Regions from separate parts of the Homo sapiens genome. Here region 2 is linked to region 1. Evidence: promoter capture Hi-C in 16 types of primary human blood cells and fetal thymus (Javierre and others, 2016). All regions are on one chromosome and are shown on one strand. Each heading gives the region's core, a stretch centred on a gene start or on the middle of the fragment in contact. The rest is flanking DNA. Distances are from core to core; before and after follow the strand shown.

Region 1 (5,384 bases), core at 1,173-3,672:
CTTGACTAAATGTGGCCAAAAAACATACTGCTATTTCCAGTATCAAATTGAAATCGCTTTTCCTTTTCAAGACCCTGCTCTAGTTTCAGTAATAATACCTGTTACTTTGCACTAATTCCATAAAAATTATTTATGTATACTTGATTTGTGGCACTGTATGACAAAGAAAGAAAGAAAATCCCTGGTTTCAACAAAGCTGAAGTCTACCTAAACAAGACATACGCTTCACAAATACACACCAATGCACCAGAGATGTCACAAAGTAATATAAATGATTAGGTTATATAATTTGAAAGTGGAGCTGGAATTTGAACCCTAATATAAATCCCAAGTCCCTACAAAGAACCACAGTAAATTCTCAATAAATGCTGGATGATATGAAGCAAATATTCCTAATGGCAGTTGTAAGAAAGCCACTTAAAATGCCTCTCATTACAACAGAATGACTACAGTAACCAAAACAGTAGCTCTAGTGATTGTGACATCCAAGAGGTGATAAGACATGTTTATGATAAAGATACCAAGGATGATGAAAAACATTTTCGGATGACAAGTACACTGTGCTTAGTAGGTCCACACTCATTTGGGAGCATTCTAAGTCACAATCAAGACCAGCTGCGGTGGCTCACGCCTGTAATCCCAGCACTTTGGGAGGCCGAGGCGGGTGGATCACCTGAGGTCGGGAGTTCGAGACCAGCCTGACCAACATGGAGAAACCCCCATCTCTACTAAAAATACAAAAAAATTAGGCAGGCGTGGTGGCACATGCCTGTAACCCCAGCTATTCGGGAGGCTGAGGTAGGAGAATCGCTTGAACCTGGGAGGCAGAGGTTGCAATGAGCCGAGATAGTACCATTGCACCCCAGCCTGGGCAATGAGTGAAACTCCATCTCAAAATAAATAAATAAATAAAATAAATCACAATCAATTGTATTCTACAAATAAACAGTACAGCTCATGACTGGTCAATAGCTGTGCCCTACCCAATACAGTGACTACTAGCTACATGTGACTATGCAAGTTAAAATTAAATAAAATTCAAAATTCAGTTCCTCCATCACTCTAGCCACATTTGAAATGTTCCATGGCTACATATGGCTAGTAGCTTGGCTGCCCTACTGGACATCACAAAAGAGAACAGTTCTATCATGGACAAAGTTCCTTGGGGACTTAGTGCTGCTCTCTATCAAATTTAAAACACAAACACTTTTAATACGACTTTTCACCAGCTTGGCAACTTGAATTTTTAACTTTATAACTTACTAAGAACACATGACCTCACAAAGAAAATGGAATCGGTAGTATGTTGAGTCCTCATTTTTAAGTCCATTTGCCTTGTGCATAGATAAGATTCAATAGTAATTGAGCCTTTCACAAATATGTATAAACTGAATAGTGAAAGTGGATTCAGGACTTTTTTTTGTAATTAAATAACATATTTGTCTTTTCATATAATTTATGCAATATTGTAAATTACAAAATTAAGTTCCATTGCCCTTAAACTATGGAATTGGTGCTTTTACTTACTCAACACAAGTGAGCATACATGTCTTAGATGTCAGGGTGAGTAAACATGGTTAGGGGAGGCAATGCCCTAGGGTGGGTGTCAGGCAGGGTACACGTACGCTGTGTTGGTCACATCCATGCATAAAGGTACCTTTATGGCTCTTAAGACACATATAGAATAAAGTCTGCGGGACGGGGTCTACCTGAACACTGAGTATCCGGGCTGGATGATCTCAGGAAAGGTCCACAGCCACCTGTGGTCCCAGGGGAAGGGGCCAACCCTCTGACACGGAAACACTTCCAGGGGTGGACACACCGGTGGGGGGGTGGGGAGGACAGTGAAGATCACAAGTGCCCGTAGAGGCAGGAGCTGTGACAGGACAAGATCAGAGGCTGGGGCAAGAAGAAGGGGCCGTGGACCACCCCGTGCCCAGCCCGAGCCCTCCCCCGGCCCCGGGACAGGCGAGTTACATAACCCCGGCGGGCGTCTCTCGGCGCCGGGCGAGTGGTGCAGGCGGCGAGGACAGCCCCCGCGCCCAGGGGCCGCTCTTCCCTCCACCTCGGCTGGGGGCCGGAGTGGCGCCAGGGGAGCAGCCACCGCCTCCGCCTGGCACAGGCTGGACTCCCGGGCTCTCGGTTTCCGGCCCTGGCGCTCACACAACCCCAGAAACCAACACACAGACACCATAACAAAGGCGGCGACGCGGCGGCAACACCGGAGTGGGAGGACTAGGGGACCACAGTGGGGCTGGCAGTCAGCCCACCTGCCCAGCGGAGGGCACGGCCGTCCGTCCCGGCCGGTGCAACCGCTGGGCAAGCAGCAGGCGGGAAAAGGGGGGGGTGCTTTGAGGTGCTACTCACTCTCGTCAGGCAACTGGTCGAGCTCCGCCATCTTGAACGAGCCGCGCCGCTTTTTCAAAGGCTGCCCGCCGCGGTGCATTGTGGGGCGGAGACTGTCTTTGCGAGGGAGGTTCGAATGCGGAGCTCGCTGCCCGCGGCGCCGCGCTGCGCTGCTCCCGCCGCGGCTGGCTGAGGCGGGCCCGGCTCCGCCCGCGCCTGCCCGGGGAGGAGGTGCCGCCGAAGGGGGGCCGCGCCTCGCCCCTCCGCCGCCGCCTCCGGCCGAGCCGGGCGGGAGGAAGGGAGGAAGGAGGCCGCACGGCGAGGCCCGGCGCCGGAGCGCGGGGGGAGCAGTACCAGCTCCGGAGTCCCGCCCGGGCCCCGCTCCCGGCGCATGTTCCGCGGCCCGCGCTGCAGCTGCGGGAACTGCAGGCTGTTTGTTCCGAGTGGAGAACGGGAGGGAGGCCCCGGCGGGGGGAAAGAAGCCCTCGGTTCTGGGTCGCATTGCCCGAGGGGGCTCTACGCAAAGTGAAATACTCACAGTTCCCGAAACCCACGTTGCTTGGGCGCCTCCGTCCCCTCACTTTTCCCGAGACCGCCGGCCGCAGCAGCCCCCTGCGCGTCGCGACGTCCGGGACTCGGTCCCAGCGGCCCCTCGCGATCCGGGCACGCCTTTCCCGAATGTTGGAAGCTGAGCTGCGTGCAGCCGGGGAGCGAGACCTTGAGAGGTCATGAAGTTGGTCATTTAGGCCGACAGCTAAAGAACTGTTCTGCTCAGCTGTTTCATCCATTCGACACTAGATCGTGCAGTGGGCTGGAAGAGAATTAGAAAACGAGTAACAGGAGGCTTCGAGAGGATACAGAAAGGAACAGTGACACTACAAGGTGATAAAGTACCTGATCCAAATGTTATGAGAATACTGGACGAGAATTGAACGAAATTGAAAGAAGCCCAAGGAAAAATTTCACAATATCTGTCTGTAACACTTTCCAGTAATAAAACACTGTTGCTTTTCAAAAATTCATTTAACGAATGTCATTGAGCTCCAATCCTTTTCTCCAGGAATTTATGGGGGTTGGAGGAATGAGACCGTTAAGCAGTCAAAAGACAACGTGGGTGAATTCCAGGAACTACAAAGTTAAAAGGCGGTAGACTAAGGTGACAGAGTGGTACACAGAGGCCCGCCCAGGCTAAGGAGTTGAACTTGCTTAGTCCACTGGAGCAGTGGAAAAGTCGGGTGTAAGAGGGGCACGTTTCTATTTGTGTTTTAGAACAAAAATATGGGAAATGGATTGGTGGGGGACAAGATGAGAGCCTAGAAACCAGTCAGGAAGAAGCTTATTTGGGGCATGCAAAGGACAGAAGAGAGATGCCTGCACTGGTAGCTAGAGAGGTGCAGCGGGTGGGCTCTGGAGCCCCAGGGCCTCGATGGGAAGAATCCAGATGGGCTGCTAGTTGTATAATCTCAGGCACGTTGGTTTCTTAACCGAATTCTCTGTGCCTCAGTTTCTTATCTGTAAAATGCAAATAACAGGGTTATTTTGAGGGCTAAACGATTTGATAGATGTAAGGACCTTATACTAGCTGCTAGCACCCATCAGCTAGCCACTATTACCACCATTACCACAGCATAGGCAGTATTAGAGAGAGGTGGCAGCATGCACTCCACCTTTCAAGACGTGGAAAATAAAGGATTGGGTGAGTCACTGGGTGTGAGGAGAAGGAAGTCTCATTGCTGATGCCAGCTCTGTGCCTTGGGTAACTGGGTGCTGCCATGCTAAGGTAGGAGGGAGAGCAGGGAGTGAGCAGGGAGGGTGAAAGTTCAATTTTACAAAGTAATCCTTCCTTCAGAGCTAGCTTAACCTCTCCTTTGCCTTCTAAACACACTCTGATCTGCTCCCTAAGAAGATTAAAACACTGGTCCTTGTTGTCAGCACCTAGGGGGTGCTTCAGCAGCTTGCACTTCAGTATCAATTTGGAGATGAGATCAAGAAAAGGTCAGCCCTTTAAGAATGGAAGAATAGAAATTAAAAAAACATGAGAGGTTACCAGAGTGGGAGAAGCAAAAGCTTTGTGAATGTCATGATAGTCAAGGTGTCATTAGACCAAGGCAAACCTGGTTTTATTCTGAGGCAGTTTTCATGTACACGCAACAACACAACTACTGTTTAAATCAATGTTTTTAGGCCCTTGCCTGATAATCTGCATTTTAAACAAAAACTTTGACTCTTCTCATAAATCCAAAGCCTGAAGCTGTATCCTAGCCCCAGATCTAGCGCTTAGCTGTGTGATCGAAGCCAAGGCACACCTAACTCTTCAATAAGTTTCGTTATTGAATATTTATGACAGGTTTTACAATGATTGGCTTACTTGATTCTCCCAACAACCTGGTAATTTGTCCAAAGACAATGGCAAGCAAGTGCTAGAATCAGGAATCTAGCCCACTTTTCGGTGCCTCAGTGACTCCCTCTGTGATGGGAGGATTACACGTATGTCTTTGTCCATTTGTGCTGCTATAACAAAACATCTGAGACTGGGTAATTTATAGACAACAAGAATTTTTTTTTTTTTTTTTGAGATGGAGTTTTGCTCTTGTCACCCACGCTGGAGTACAATGGTGTGATCTCGGCTCACTGCAACCTCTGCCTCCTGGGTTCAAGCGATTCTCCTGCCTCTGCCTCCAGAGTAGCTGGGATTACAGGTGCCTGCCACCACTCCTGGCTAATTTTTGTGTTCTTAGTAGAGACAGGGTTTCACCAGTTTGGCCAGGCTGGTCTTGAACTCCTGATCTCAAGTGATCTACCTGCCTCAGCCTCCCAAAGTGCTGGGATTACAGGCATGAGCCACCGTGCCCAGCCGACAACAAGAATTTATTTCTCACAGTTTCAAACGCTGGGAAGTCCAAGATCAAGGTGCCAATGTTGGTGTCTGGTGAGGGCAGCTCTCTGTTTCCAAGATGGTGGCTCGTTGCTCCATCCTCTGGAGGGGATGCATGCTGTGTCCTCACATGGTAGAAGGGACAGAAAGGCAAGAGAACACC
Region 2 (4,873 bases), core at 1,960-4,459, 530 kb before region 1:
TAAAGGATGCATCCAGCAGCCATAAAAAAAAAAAAAGAATGAAATCATGTCCTTTGTAGCAACATGGATAGAGCTGAAGGCCATTATCCTGTCAACGAACGTAGAAACAGAAAACCAGATACAGCATGCTCTCACTTATAAGTGGGAGCTAAACAATGGGCACTCATGTGGCTTGGCTCTGTGTCCCCACCCAAATCTCATGTTGAACTCTAATTCCCAGTGTTGGGGGAGGGACCTGGTGGGAGGTGATTGGATCATGGGGGTGGATTTCCCCCTTGCTGTTCTTGTGATAGTGAGTGAGTTCTCACAAGATCTAGTTGTTTAAAATTGTGTAGCACTTCCCCCTTCTCTCTCTCTCTCTCCTGCTGCCACGTGAAGAAGTGCTGGCTTCCAAGCACTTGATTTGGCCCTTCTGCCAGGATTGTTAAGTTTCCTGAGGCCTCCCCAGTCATGCCTCCTGTACAGCCTGCAGAACTGTGAGTTCAATTAAACCTCTTTTCTTCATAAATTACCCAGTCTCAGGTAGTTCTTTATAACAGTATGAGAATGGACGAATACGGGTACACATCAACATAAAGATGGAAATAATGGACACTGGTGACTCCAAAAGGGGGAGGGTGGGAAGATGGAAAGGGTTAAAAAGGTACCAATTGGGTACAATGCTCACTATTTGGGTGATGGGTACACTAGAAACCTAATGCCCACCAGTATGCAATATACCCATGTAACAAACATGCACATGTACCCCCGAACCTAAAATTAAATTTTTAAAAAAAGAATGCATCCTAGTGTGACTGGGGACATTTGCATAATCAAGGGCAATTCCCATAACTTCTTCCTTATCTTGATTTCTCTGCCTCTGTAGGGGCTGAGGCTGGGCTAAGCTTGGAGATGCTGGAACTCACAGTGATGGGGACCCTCACAATGGAGATCTGTTCTTTACTGTCATTCTCTCCATAACTGTGAGCTCTATGAGGCAGGGACTGGGCCTGTCTTGTTCACTGCTGGGTCTCTAATGCCTAGCCCAGCTCCTGGTGTTTGTCCAGGGTGGACACTTGTTTTACTTTTTGCTGAATTGAATTGAAACTGATCTCTTATGTTCCTTGTGACAGAAGGCAAAGTTGGCATTGTCTTAACTTCCATTGTTTTCATCTTCAGGGAAAAACCCCTACACCTGGGGGTCATTCTGCCCAACTCTGCCCTCTCTGCCTCTGCTCATTGCTCTTTATAGCTTCCCTCAACACACACACACACACACACACACACACACACGTGTCTCATTAAATGAGGATTTGGGTCCCTGGCTCATAGCCTTCTCCTTCATCTTATTCCTTTTCTTACTCATAGAAGACTTTGACTTTGTGTGGACAACCCAACTATAAATCCAGCCTCACCAGGGACTATTGCTACTCTAAAATGTTAAACCCCAATATCCAATCTGACTAAAACTTATTTCCTGCTATATTGAATTCAGATTTCCTTTAATCCTGGTTCCTTAACTTCTCTCTTTTGACTCAATTAATTACCAGCTATCTAGCATGGATCCCATAATTTATCATTTCAATCATTCTCTTGCCAGTACCACCTACAACATTCTTGACCCTTTGTTCTTCTTCCTCATGTACCCTATAAATCCCTAATATCTGTCTTTTCCAGTCCAAAATCCAAGCTTCTGGGTGTTGCTGGAGACAGACCCTAATTGGGGCTATTCCCAGATATGATCTCCAGTTTCAGCTTTTTACTCTACTTGACATATTGCTTTTGAGTTTCTTTTTTTGTTGTTGTTGTTGTTGTTGTTTTAGAGACAGAGTCTTGCTCTGTTGCCCAGGCTGGAGTGCAGTGATATGCGATCTTGGCTCACTACATCCTCCATCTCCTGGGTTCAAGAGATTCTCCTACCTCAGCCTCCCGAGTAGAGTAGCTGGGATTACAGGCACCCACGACCAAGCCCAACTAATTTTTTTATTTTTAGTAGAGATGGGGTTTCACGATGTTGACCAGGGTGGTCTTGAACTCCTGACTTCAAGTGATCTGCCCACCTCAGCCTCCCAGAGTGCTGGGATTGCAGGTGTGCACCACCGCTTCCCACCTGTTTTTTTCTAATAGGCTTCCTTATTCATTTCTCACAATGGCTTTTCCAAACCTTCTCCTCAAGGATCCAAACCCATCCTTGCTTCCTCAAAGATCCAAAACCACCCTTCCTATTTACGAAGGTGGTCTCCTGTCTTAGGTGACAAGAAAATGTACCTTCTTGCCCTCGTATCTACATGCTCACCTATACCCTCACCCGACTTTTCCCTCCTCCTCACCCCATCAAAGGCAATAATGCACCTGTTTTTATTCATCTGGGCCTTTGGTCTTCCCCTTCATATTTCCCGAGACCTCGCTTTCTTCTTTCTCTTGTATTTTTTATTTTTCTATCTCTTATGTGTCCTTCTCTAAAAGTTATAAACATGCACAAAATCTTTCCATCTCAAAATATAATACCCTTTACCTGGTGTCCCCTGCAGGCCATCTTCTTTATTTATTTACTTTTGCGCCAGCGTCTTCCTCTGAAGCCCAGGCTGGGTGCGTAGCGCGATCATGGCTCACTGCAGCCTCGGACTCCCGGGCTCAAGCGATCCTCCTGCTTGGAGGATCAGATTTTTTATCCTTGCAGAAGTGATAATATGGCTTCTTCCTCATCTCCTAAACACCAGTCATCTGACATACACTGCAGATCTAAAATGGGCCTACGTGTTCTGCCCTTCCTTGCCTACCTGTTGAGCTTGCACCGCTTCTGTGAGTCTCCCCCCACCCACAAGAGATCCTTCTTCCTTCGCGCTCCACTAACCCGACATAAATGTTTATCATATAAAGTTTTCCGTTGCACTCTTGTGTTTATGTCTCCTGGCTTCTTCACCAAGCTGTGTGACAGCTGGGCCCTGTCGCCTCCTTCCTCGTATATGCAGCGACTATCGCAGAGCCGCTTAATCTTTGTTGAAGGCAGCTGCGGTTCAGCCCTGAGGGCCACGGGACGGACGCCACTCATTCAGCCCTACCGGGGGCGCTGTGGCAGCCGGCATTGGTTGCCGTGCCCTCCGCTTGTCTCGCTCAGCTCTCGAGCCACACGCCCTGGGCTCCGCCCACTCCCTGACAACATCCCTCCTGCCCATTGGGCGAGCATGGACGGGGCTGTCCAATGGAGCGAGGCGTTGGTGCGAGGAGGCGCCGCCATCTTGGGGCTGCTGGGACTCGCGTCGGTTGGCGACTCCCGGACGTAGGTAGTTTGTTGGGCCGGGTTCTGAGGCCTTGCTTCTCTTTACTTTTCCACTCTAGGCCACGATGCCGCAGTACCAGACCTGGGAGGAGTTCAGCCGCGCTGCCGAGAAGCTTTACCTCGCTGACCCTATGAAGGTAAATCGCTGGCGGGGCCGCTGCTTTGGGCCCCAGCCCAGGATGTCTTCCCGCCATCCACTCGGCCCCTGGAGCTTCCCCAGCGCTCCCAGGAGGTGCTGGGAATGAACACAAATGGACCCTGCCAAGTTAATGTTCTGCTCTCTCGTCCCCTTCTTCCCTGATCTAGCGGCCCAGTGAGGCCCTGAAGCTGGCAACAGCCAGGTTCATCTCAGCCCTAAACATTTCTGCAATCGATCTTCCCGCCCCAGTCCCTCAGCTTCCTTTATGGCTTCGGTTGTTTTACGAGTCCCTGAAGCCAGGGCTCCTCCCCCTGCAGCTTCCTGTCCTTTGTCTTGGTTCACTTTTCCTGTACCGCCTAGGCGGTAAGGGTACCTCATGTATATAAAACTGATGATGTTTTTTCTACTACCGCTCAGACATTCTTGAAAGATTCCAATTTGGAAGCATCTGTACCCCCCAGAATATTGGTTCTTAGTATTTTGGGAGTCACAGGCTTTGGGACCATAAGAATAATATTTGCACCTTTCCTCAGAAAAATGGTATAAGTAAATGTATAAGTAAATGTTTGCAAACAATTTTAAGGGATTCATGGACCTCTGAAATACATTCTTAGCCCCCACAAAAATTATAATGGAGGTGGATGTCAGAGGTTAGCTCATTATTAAAAAGCAAAGGAGTCCAAGTGATGGGAGTTTAGCATTCGGGTCTTACTTTTCGTCTCTTGAGGTTTTGGTTATTTTATTGTCATGTCTAAGAATTATTTGAAGCATCTTCGTGTTAATTAAAAGTTCTGCTTCTTTTTAGAACTCAGCATATTGAAGGGATTTTATACTGAAAACCTCAGACCTGGTTATGTATGATGCTTCTTTTGTTTTGTGTTTGTTGTAACTCAGTTATCTCTTTTATGCTGCATTCATTTCCCACTCTCGTGTTACTGACCCCAAGTTAAATTAGGTTCTGTGGGAGACACAAAGGTGAATGAGATTCCGTTCAACCCTTAAGGAGCTGGTATTATTGGAGGGTATTATAGATCCAGTGTATTGTGACTGTATCCCTCGGAGAAGAAAGAAAATTAAAAGCAGATAAAATCTCGGAAAACCGGGGCTCAGGATCTTTTTTTTTTTTTTTCAATAGTTTTATTTTTTTTGAGACGAAATCTCGCACTGTCGCCCGGACTGGAGTGCAATGGCTCAATCTCAGCTCGCTGCAACCTCCACTTCCTGGGTTCAAACGGTTCTCCTGCCTCAGCTTCCCGAGTAGCTAGGTTTACAGGCGCCTGCCACCACACCTGGCTAATTTTTTGTATTTTTAATAGAGGCGGGGTTTCACCATCTTGGCCAGGCTGGTCTGGAACTCCTGACCTCGTGATCCACCCGCGTTGGCCTCCCAAAGTGTTGGGATTACAGGTGTGAGCCACTGCGCCCAGCCCAGGGCTCAGGATTTACTGTGTGAAACTATTGATGATCATTAAGTA

What was found. The method cuts DNA at HindIII sites, captures the fragments that hold promoters and counts their contacts. A CHiCAGO score of 5 or more calls a contact.
Region 2: a contact is called between the fragment with the promoter of SRP9 here and the fragment with the promoter of LIN9 in region 1, in 2 of 17 cell types (monocytes and activated CD4 T cells). The highest score is 5.5, in monocytes.

The regions. Positions count from the first base shown.
Region 1 is chr1:226,306,742-226,312,125 of GRCh38, forward strand. It overlaps LIN9 (lin-9 DREAM MuvB core complex component), which reads right to left and starts at 2,423. Exons shown (of 15, transcript NM_001366245.2): 1 at 2,368-2,423. The coding sequence starts at 2,398. RefSeq lists an enhancer at 1,556-2,322 and silencers at 1,876-2,105, 2,526-2,775. The HindIII fragment of the contact is 5,962 bases long and covers 1-3,679 here.
Region 2 is chr1:225,774,617-225,779,489 of GRCh38, forward strand. SRP9 (signal recognition particle 9) reads left to right here and starts at 3,210. Exons shown (of 3, transcript NM_003133.6): 1 at 3,210-3,396. The coding sequence starts at 3,325. RefSeq lists enhancers at 2,203-2,963, 2,710-2,929, 3,180-3,549. The HindIII fragment of the contact is 1,703 bases long and covers 1,668-3,370 here.